Linked DNA regions of Homo sapiens: all the other regions are linked to region 3. The links are contacts of gene promoters, found by promoter capture Hi-C in blood cells and fetal thymus (Javierre and others, 2016). All regions are on one chromosome and are shown on one strand. Each heading gives the region's core, a stretch centred on a gene start or on the middle of the fragment in contact. The rest is flanking DNA. Distances are from core to core; before and after follow the strand shown.

The links. Contacts are between HindIII fragments. The CHiCAGO score rates a contact against its expected background, and 5 or more counts as called.
Region 1: a fragment that was not itself captured here is called in contact with the fragment with the promoter of RNGTT in region 3 in 1 of 17 cell types (fetal thymus); the score reaches 5.2 in fetal thymus.
Region 2: a contact is called between a fragment that was not itself captured here and the fragment with the promoter of RNGTT in region 3, in 1 of 17 cell types (fetal thymus). The highest score is 5.5, in fetal thymus.

What each region holds. Positions count from the first base shown.
Region 1 is chr6:90,284,846-90,288,293 of GRCh38, forward strand. The region is part of intron 1 of BACH2 (BACH transcriptional regulator 2); the gene reads right to left. Among named protein-coding and RNA genes, the nearest start is that of BACH2, 10 kb to the right of the region's middle. RefSeq lists an enhancer at 701-1,201. The HindIII fragment of the contact is 2,482 bases long and covers 160-2,641 here.
Region 2 is chr6:87,159,362-87,162,896 of GRCh38, forward strand. The region is part of intron 1 of ZNF292 (zinc finger protein 292); the gene reads left to right. Among named protein-coding and RNA genes, the nearest start is that of ZNF292, 5.6 kb to the left of the region's middle. The HindIII fragment of the contact is 3,364 bases long and covers 1-3,299 here.
Region 3 is chr6:88,962,233-88,966,016 of GRCh38, forward strand. RNGTT (RNA guanylyltransferase and 5'-phosphatase) reads right to left here and starts at 1,386. Exons shown (of 16, transcript NM_003800.5): 1 at 1,114-1,386. The coding sequence starts at 1,177. RefSeq lists enhancers at 1-731, 1,086-1,465 and a silencer at 1,449-1,683. The HindIII fragment of the contact is 1,727 bases long and covers 47-1,773 here.

The DNA of each region.
Region 1 (3,448 bases), core at 151-2,650, 1.3 Mb after region 3:
TGATACTGATGAGTCATTCGTATCGGCGGAAACCAAGAACTTCCATCAACATCATGTTACACACAGTCACTGTGGCTTTTCTTTATTACTGGTCAAAGCTGCTTCAGAATGCTTATTGAAACTTAAGAAAAAGAAGGCAAACTCCTCAAGGGTGTGCAAAGCTTTCCCTTCCCCAGCTGATCTTACTTTAATCATCCTTTTTCAAGACAGTTTATGATGATTGGATCAACTTGTATCTACAAAAGGAAGTTTATTTAGAAGCCTCAGAAAAGCAACATTTCACACTTTCCGATGAAAATAAGCAAAACTGAACTCTGAAAACAAACAGTGAAACCATCTCTGAAAATACATGCTAGCTTTAAAATGACCTGAGGTCAAGTTTTTTGTTTTGTTTTTTAACCTCAATAACAGGGAACGGATATAAACAAAAGCTGTCATCACTTAGGGACTTCAGCCACATAAAACAATGTCAGGCTAGTCACTTGCACCCTCGCCCCTGCTTCCCTACTCAGGACACACTGCTTTGCACTGAGGGAGAAGTGGGTCAGGTTTCAGTTACGCCAAGAAAGCCTAACTAAGTTAAAGGTTTATGAAAACTCTTTCTGATCTTAGTAGGAAATAACAGCACATTCCCTTTTCATTTATTATCAGCCCCTTTTGCCTCTCCCCTTAAATATTCCCAGAAAAATAAAGTGAAGCAAAAAAAAAGTTTTCCTGAGGCATATCCAGAAATGCTATGAATCTTTATGCAGTCCCTACAAAGGTAGAAATTTGTCCAATTTTCTCCCCTGCAACCAGAAGGCTGTGTCTGGCTGCTGGCAGGAGAAGAGGACCCAGCTCAGCAGTGACCACAGATCTGAAAATAGCCTCCCAGTAGCTAACCAGCCCAGCAGCCCGGAGCTCTCCAAGGGCGGTGCTGGTACTATGGGCAGTTTACAGTGCGGCCAGCTGAGTGCTACAACAGCTGCATGAGTCAGCAAGCACTGCTGGTAGGAAAGTGCTGACATGCTAAATTACTCTCGTGTACTTGAGATGCACACACCTACCTGGCAAAAACAAAAACAGGGTACATGCAAATTAGCAAACGGGAACCTCTCTACGCTTGCAGTTTCTATTTTCCAAGGTTAGACCAAAAATATAAATAATCTATGCCACTGCTCAAAAAGAAGTAACAACTAATAATAATTAATCATGGTAATAAACAACTCACTCTTAGTGTTGCTATGTGTGGAACAGCTGCACTGAAATCTCACGAGCCAGTTAATTTTAACTGGTTTTAATTTTAACTAGATTTAACTGCTTTTCCTCCCTTCTGAAAAATCAAAATAGTTACCATATCGACCACAAGAACTGGTAACAGACAAGCACAGTTCCTGTTTTTCAGAGGGGACTTACTTTCAAACCCACAATATCAACACGCTTAACATAAGTGGAAATTTAAAATGTACTGTTTAATGTGGGAAATTTAAAACCTGTATGCTAATTGAGATCTCATGTGCCAGGCTTTGTCTGACAATGCCTCTCATTCATCTATGTTCTCTCGTTTTATACGGGACCTAAAAATCTGCAGGAACACTGGTTGTCTGGAACTGAGAATACATTTTCCCACAGAAATAGGGCCAGGCCAATGAGCTAGGATTCCTTGATAGTCCGTGAAAATGTCTTGAACTTAAAATATGAGAGGTTAAATTTATAATCTAAAAAGAAAATGATACTACAATGATAGTTCCAAAACCATTTAAAAGAAAATACTCTTGATTAACTGTGTTTGAGGAAATGTCTAACTACAGGAGGATGAAGGGACACAGTCTTCCAAGTGACACTTTCAGACTTCAACTTTAGGGTCATTCTGGTTCTCTAACATGGTTTCAATTGATAGTTTCATTTAAAATGCATAGAATTCTCTTACTTTGGCATAAAGTATTGTTAGAAAAAAAATCTTTATACTTACCGGTTTTAAGTACTGTTTTGTTCTCCAAAAAAAAAATTGAGACTTGGAAAACAAAAAAGGAGGAGAAACAAGTACAAAGAGGGGGTACTAGAGAGAGGGAAACAAATTAAGTCTGGAACAAAGAAAGACACGGAGGTATAACTAAACTGCAAAAACAAAGGAGAGGTAGGAACTAGAGGGCAGTTCCCCGCTAGACAGTGTGTTCCCAGAGAAAGAGGACTCTTCATCATACCCAGCTCTGGAGGTGACAGTGAAGTCCTGCAAGACAGTTCCACAGACTGGCACTAGATGGAGCCATCAACTCAACATAGCATGGTTGCTGGAGAAGGGTATGGTGGGGGAGAGGTGGGACTGAAGGGCGTTGACTCTACAGCCAGGTATTTACCTGCCAACAACTCTATCTAAAATAAGTATAGTTTAATTAATCAACCAACTCTCCTAATGTCCAGATGTCACCACCATGCTGACACCACTATGCTTGTGGTATGTCAAATTGGGACACACCAATTTTGAAATAAATTTATCAATTCAATTTGTATCAATGCAACTGGGGTGGGGAGGTAAGTGAAGTTGGATCCGCTGCTTTTTTTTTCTTCTAAAATTCAACATGCAAAGATAATATAGAATTTCAGGTTCATTGCTACTGAATAACAAAAATCCCTAACCACAAACCAAATGGCTTTCCCTGGAAGCTTTGTTTAAATGTTAAATAACATACCATCTTGCTATAGAGGTTTATGTGATCAACTCCAATGTACGGCAAAAGGCGGGAAATGCTCACTGACAAATGTATTATTAAAAATAATCTTCTCTTTGTATTTTAATACTACTTTGATTTAAATACTGTAATCCATTTGCCTATATTCTCTGCCTAGGGTTGTGTTTATTTATCACGAGCCCTCTCTCCATTCAGAAATGGTCTCCTATCACCAGGTTACCAGTGTGCGAAATTCTATTGTTTTTATCTTTAGGGTTTTACTTCTTTGGCTTTGTCTCCTATTAACATGCTGATGCTTCAGAAAAGTAACACATTAAGTATGCTCAGTTACTTATATATTAGTAAAACTGTGTTCATAAAATCTTTCTCTGAGATTGGTTTTGGAAGGGAAGGACAAGGACTAGTTGAGGGGACTGGGTGGCCAAAAGGTAAGAGAGCATGAAACAAAAAAGTGAGCACAGAAGGAGGATGGGGGAACTGGCTGCAAACCGTGCCTAGCTTCTTTACATCTGGGACACGGACCATCATCCCTGGCACTTATCTTCCCAAGAAAATGTATGAAAAGGAAGGGTTAACTCTGTCTACATTTTCCTCTTGCTGAATGGGTAATAATATCTTTCACAGTTAATTTCATTTTTTTTTCAGTTTGACTCTTCAGGGCTTATTCATTTGCATAATATGGAATCTTGAACCCACATAGATATTCTACAAATCAATGCAAGTAATTCTCACACTAAATCAGCAGCTTTAATTTAAGCTCAACATTGTTTGCATAGAAA
Region 2 (3,535 bases), core at 368-2,867, 1.8 Mb before region 3:
TAAATTTTTTTATATATTTTATTTTATTTTTGAGAGATGGGGTCTTGCTACATTGCCCAGGTATGATCATAGCACACTACAACCTCAAACTCTTAGGCTCAAGTGATCCTCCTGTCTCAGCTTTCTTTTCTTTCTTTTTTTTTTTTTTTTTTTTTAAAAAAGATGTAGTTTAACTCTGTCACCCAGGCTGGTGTGCAATGGCGCAATCTGGGCTCACCACAACCTCCGCCTCTTGGGTTCAAGCAATTCTCCTGCCTCAGCCTCCTGAGTAGCTGGGATTACAGGCATGTGCCACCATGCCCGGCTAATTTTGTATTTTTACTAGAGACAGGGTTTCTCCTTGTTGGTCAGGCTGGTTCCGCCCCTCTTGGCCTCCCAAAGTGCTGGGATTACAGGCGTGAGCCACCACGCCCGGCCCTGTCTCAGCCTTCTAAGTAGCTGAGACCTCAGGCATACACCACCATGCCCAGCTCTTAAATTTCCTTGTATCTTTTCAAAGTTAGCTTTAATATGGGCAATATAACCAACTCATTTTCTTAAAATTGACTTAGAATAAGTATATAGAATAACCAGAAGTAATTTCTTGCATTTACTTGTTTTAGGATTATTACTGTATTTATTATACAAAAATTGGTTATAATTGGAACCTTTTAGACTAGTTAATTGTATTAGACTGGGCCAGTAGTCACTCATTCAACATTTCTATTGAACATCTACTGTATACAGGCTAGGCAAGGATGATCATGGTCCCTGGCTTCAAAGAGTTTATAGTCTCTGGAGGAAGGTAGACAGATAATCGTAGTAAACTATGATTTATATATTTTATCACTGAGGTGAGTACAGTAAAGAGGGAGGTTATTTGGGAGTTTTAAAAGAAACATTCCAACAGAGGAGTTGTTCTAAAGAGATTTTAAAATAATAGTTCGTTGGAAAAATTGGCCATTGTAATAGTTGATTTGTTGGAGTATGATATTTGCTGACAGCACTATATACTGGACTGGCCGACTGGTTGATTGTAACTGTTATTGACCATTGATCAGTAGTGATCTGGTGGCTGACAGTTGTTTTGAAGGGTTGAATTACAGTCGTGTGTGTATGTGTATACATACGTACATGTGTTTGTATATATATGTGTGTGTGTGTGTGTGTGTGTATATATATGCAAGGACCTAGGTTTAGATGTTACAGAGGATATAAGATACAGGAGACTCTAATAAAAAAATATGTTTGTGTGTATATATACATATATACGATGTGTGTGTGTATACATACATGTATACGGTGTGTGTGTGTGTATATATACATATATATGATGTGTGTGTGTATATATATATATATAATTTTCTTAGTTCATATAAGCAGGGCTTCTCAACTGGGCATAGTACTTTCCCTACCTCCAGTTCTCTCTTTGATGGCACTTAGAAATATGTGGGATCAGGTTTTTGGATGTTGCTATGACTAGGGATGTGGTACTGGCATTTAGTGCCCATGAGCTTCAATGCTAAGTTTTCTGAAGTGATCAGGACCGTCCCAACAAATGAAAGCGTAATTCCTCTAAGTACCCTTTTCAGAAACATTGAACAGAAAGAAAAATAGTATATCTAGAAGATTTTTTTTTTTAGTCCTTCTACTCTTTTCATATTGAGATAGTTAAGCTCCAGAAATATACTTTATTTGGAACAGGTCCAGGTAAATGATATTCAACAATATTTAAGTATAATTTATACTGACCATGAGAGGTCAAGAAACTTTCTACTTTCTTAGCAGAAATTACAAGCAATTGCATAAACAGTTAGTAAAACAACTTTTGCTAGGTTAAAGAGGGTAGCAAATTCAGCATAATTATCCTGATTAAAGAAAAGATTTGACATTTTGATATAATAAATTCTGTACTTTTAAGAAAGCATTTATATGCAAGGACCTAGGTTTAGATGTTATAGGAGATAAAAGATACGGGCAACTAGTGGGATATAAATTAGTAAGATAATATTTAAATATCACTTCAAAATGACAGCTGAAAAGATGTCAAAAGGCAGTGTATTAACTAACAAATTGTTTTGCTTTATTTTTATTTTTTTGAGACAGGGTCTCCACTCTGTCACCCAGGTGGGAGTGCAGTGACACAGTCACGGCTCACTGCATCCTTGACCAACTGGGCTTAAGCGATCCTCTTGCCTCAGCCTGAGTAGCTGGGACCACAGGTGCACATCAACATGCCTAACTTTAAAATTTTTTGTGGAGACAAGATCTCCCTACATTGCCCAGGTTGGTCTCAAACTCCTGTGCTCAAGCAGTCCTCCCACCTTGGTCTCCCAAAGTGCTGGGACTATAGGCGTGAGCCACTGCACCCAGCCTGGTTTTGCTTTTTTGTTGTTTGTTTTGTTTTGTTTTAAATTGAAAATGTACTAATTGAAATGGTTTTTTAAAATTCACCCTGAGAAAGGGCATACAATGAAAACTTGATCTTTTTCCCATTCTAGAGTTCCAGTCTCATTTCCACAAAGACAAATCCCCTAATGGTTTCCAGAACTAGTTTGCTCTTTTTAAGAAAATAAAGATAACTACACTGTATCTTGCTTTCCCTCCCCCCAAAAGCATCTTCTAGCTCATTCCATAGCTGCTCATGTAAGTTTTTGGCTTTCCCTATTATAGTATATAGTAATTCTAGTCTATGGCTGGGTCTAATTAATCAGTTCATTATCAGTGGATATTTAGGAGAGTAAGTTAATTTTATGTATAGCAACTTAAAGAGTTCAAAGTAGGTAGTAAGCACTTCAGGCTGGGGTATCAGGGAAGGCTTTCCTGAGGAGGTACTATTTGAGCTAGTCTTCATTACCTTTGTTAGCCATTATTGGTGCCTGATTGGTATAAGAAATAAAAACCAAATTAAAACTGTTAGAGCTACAGAATGTTTAGATTACATATTTAGGACATTTCTTTGTATATTTTATGTCTCATCAGTTTGATACAAGTTGATTCTTTTGTTTATATACATGTTACATTATAACTGCAAGATCTTTGAAACTAAGCATTTTCCTTAAAAATTAGACTTTCTTTTTGACTATTAGAGGCTATCTTAATTTGTAGGACACTTTAAATCAGAAGAAAAGACAGCTTGCTTGTTAATTAGTGATAATTACTTTAGGTATTGAGGGAGCAATAAGTCATTTAAACTTTTAGAAGTTTAGATAGTGCTCATGGGAAATAATTTTTTAAATGTTCATAATTAGTATGATTGCATGTTAGAGATAATAAATTCTACTTTGCAGAGTATGCTTATATCAATTTCAGCAAAACTAAGCTTTGCTTGCCCCCTTCTTATCCTTTTTGGACCTAAATTAAAATGAGGGAAGAGAAGATTTATTCTGCAGCTGTACTTCATAACATTTACTAACCTGCCAAACAGGATTTTCATAGGTTTTTAACTATAAAACTGCTGCTCTACTTATTTTCTTGAGATTCTGTCAAAGGTGAGAGGTTACATTATTTTTCCCAACTCCTACAGATAAATTCAGTTTATAAAATTAACCAATCA
Region 3 (3,784 bases), core at 136-2,635:
ATATTTGTGTATATACAGTCAAAATTTATCAAACTGTACGCTTTAAAGCTTATTGTATTCAAGCTCAATAAAGATGAAAAAAACTACAAGAAAAATAATTAAAAAAAACAAAAACCCGGCCAAGCGGGGTGGCTCTCGCCTATAATCCCAACACTTTGGGAGGCCGAAGTGGGAGCATCGCTTGAGTCCACGAGTTCAAGACCAGCCTGGGCAACACAGTGAAACCCTGTCTCCACAAAAAATAAACAAAAAAATTATGGCCAGGCACAGTGGCTCACGGCTGTAATCCCAGCACTTTGGGAGGCCGAGGCGGGCGGATCACTTGAGGCCAGGCGTTGGAGACCAGCCTGGTCAACACGATGAAACCCTGTCTCTACTAAAAACAAAAATTAGCCGGGTGTGGTGGCACGCGCCTGTAATCCCAGCTACTTGGGAGGCTGAGGCAGTGAGCCGAGATCACGCCACTGCACTCCAGCCTGGACGACAGAGAGAGACTATGTCTCAAATATATACATTATAAATATATATATACTTTAATAAATAAAAAAATTAGCCGGGTGCGGTGGCAGGAGCATGTAGTCCCAGCTACTTGGGAGGCTGAGGTGGGAGGATCCCCAGCCCGAGCAAGAGACCCTGTCTCACAAGAAAATAAAAATAAAAAACTAACAAAAACACCCTCCAGATTCCCAGTCTCAATGTGACCCCATTTCACCGCTGGGAACCGCCCCTTCCCTCCTTAACCCTCCTCCATCTCAATACTGATATTCATCCCTTCTTTCGAGGGGAAGGTTGAACCCTAACAGGTTCGCAAACTACTAAGACTCAAAGTACGCCCACTGTATTCCTGGATCCTCACCTCCTGCCACCAACCTCCTGTCTACCTTCACATTCGCACAGTTAGCCTTGCAGGAATAGTAACAAGTGCCCCCCATCCGCCGACCATCCCCTCCCGTTCATGTTCCCATTCATCCACGAAGCGTAATCCGACGGAGCATATCCCGCTCCTGAAATACCACTAATGGGCACAGAACCACCAAAAGCTGAGCTCCTCAGTCGGCCCACCCCCGGGCACGTTGGAGTGTGGGGATTCGAACGCCCCCCAGTCCAGGTTACCTGCCACCGGCTGGCCGCGCCGGGGACAGTTCAGCCACCGCGGCGGGATCTTGTTGTGAGCCATGTCTTGGGGCTGCGCAGAGCTGCCCTCCCTCACCAACGTTCACCGCGCCTTTGGAGCCGCCTCCCCGTGGTCCGGTGCACACCGGGGTCCGAGACACCCGAATCGCAGCCGTAATCTGAATTCCAACCTCTCCGATCCGGGTAACGTCAGGGGCGGCGCGCCACTTTCATTCAGGATCAACTCCACAGCTCCAGGAGAACCCACAATGCACCGCAACTTCCGCCCCCGAAAGCCCCGCCCCCTTTCCGAGGTCAGAGGGAAAGAAGAGGAAGCTCAGCGGAAGGATAGCAAAGAGTTAAGGACGCGACGAATGGGAGGAGCGGGCCTTCTCTCGCCCCACTCGGCACCGCCCCGCCCCGCCCCGTCCCGCTCCACGGACGCGCCCGGACGCTACTGGTTCGCCTTTGCGCATGTGCAATTGCCCTCGTACCGAACTCCGCAGGACGAAGCGTGTATTTTTTTCCCATCCAGACAACCTAGAGAAACCCAAAAAAGAGGGAAGCCAAGCGCCTTTCCATGCGTAGATTGCCCGCCACTTCCGTTAAGGCATCTATTTTACTGATGAAAAGAGGCCTTCTGAGCGTTACCACAGCTCAAGCTTGGCGTCCCAGCCGGATCTAGGTTTGATTTGCAATTAGGGAAAGTTGTTCAAGGGAACAAGTCTTAGGAGAATTCTAAGGACATGAGATTGGAGTACCAGAAATGGGGAATTTTTCTTTTGGTGAGTACTTACGAGGATCTATGAAGCTTCTGAAATTAATTCCAGAACACTTAGAGTTTTGTTTGTACATTTCTGGATCAAAGTTTCAAAGCATACTGGGGAGTTTGAGAGGGTCCATGTCTCCAAAAAAAGTTACTAATTAATGTGGTATAATTGACAAAGGTAGGAATTGATCAGTGGAGAACCTCTTCGTGGCGTTGTTCTCCTTGGCCTACCAAATAAACAGTGCCTTTTATTTTCCCTTCGAGTTAAGCAGAGGTGCTTGAAAAATTTTTATAAATGCCGTCCTTTAACGAGCCTTTCCTTTGTTACCAGATTAAAGTGTTAAATATAAAGCTGGATGATGGCGAATCAATTATAATGTAGTTTGGCTTTAAACACCAATGCTATATTGGAACTGCAAGAACGTAAGGCTGCAGGGAATACATTTTTAAAGCGTCGGTGGGGAACTTTCTGGGACGCTCAACCCCCTGAATGCCTGGACCCCCTCAGTAAGAGTCCCATCAATAGAGGCAGTCCAACAGCAATCTCTCTGAGGCAGCCTGAGTTAGGTCACACTTCTGGTCTGTCCTGCTGTTGCATCTGCTCAGAACTGTTAGTGAAGGTGTAAACTCCTCCCCTGACAGAACAAGATAATACCCAGTTTCCTTTAAGGCCATCAGTCTACCCAAATAATCTCCGATGAATTCCCTTTTCTGCTGATAGAGTGTGTACCATGCCCAAAGTGGTAAAAACCTTCCATCCCCAGACCCCCTCCAAGGATGGGAAAGGTGAGCCTGATCCTGGAAGAGTATCTTACCTTCCCCTTCTGGGGATGACTCCCCTTGGTGACTCCCCTTCCCACACACGCTATACCCAGTAGCTCAGTCCTAGGCACACAGAAGCTTCATACCACTGGCGAGCAACTGTTATTGGCTGTAAGGCAGCAATGTGCACTGGATTTTTATTCTGCTATCCAGTTATGCCCTCTCCATACTCATTGCCACAGAATTGGGAGGACCCTGTGGCTACCTTTTGTCCACAATAGAGAGTAGAGTAGGAGAGTGGCATCCCGATGAGCAGGCAGTTTCTCTCTGCCTGTCAGGAATGCCTTGCCTGATGTGTGTTTCTGCCTATATTGCTCCTAGTCCCAAGTTTCTACTACTCTGTGAGAAGAAAAATAGATGCTCACAGACAGACCAACATGATTCCTCCCCCGCTTCCTGGAACCCCTGACACCCTCCCAGATATGTCTTGATCTCCTCTTTATCAGATGTAGATTCTCTTCATTGGTGAGTCTTTCATCAAACATCCATTTTGCCCATAAGGAAGAGTGTGTACATGTAAAAAATAAGATTGAACGTTCTCTTTTGGCAAAAGAGAGAGATCTTATCTGTCTTCCCTTTTCCTAGGACTTTTCCTTGAGAAAAACCTATATTTATTAATCCTTCCTCTTCACTTTGATATGTAGATAAATCTTTTGTTTTTGCAGACAGGGTCTCACTTTCTCACCCAGGCTAGAGTGCAGTGGGCATGATCAGGGCAGCCTTACTGGAGCCTCAACCTCCCAAGCTCAAGCAATCCTCTCACCTCAGCCCCCAAGGAGCTGGGACTACAGGTGCAGGCCCCCACACCCCACTAACTTTTTTATACTTTTTTCGTCTGGAACTCCTGCAAGCAGCCCTCCCACCTCAGCCTCCCAAAGTGCTGGTAAGACAGCCAGGTGGGAAGGATTCCTTGGCAGAATCTCCTTTTGACCTGAGCACTGGGAGGAATGCACCCTGTGGTGGAGCCTTGGGAAATTTGCGCCATTTGCAGTGGGGAGGAGCCTGGCCCCTCCTTTTCCTAGGTGGAACCTGGGATTCAGTCTACCAGGCAGGAAGCACTCTGGCTTTGGGGAGAGTCTC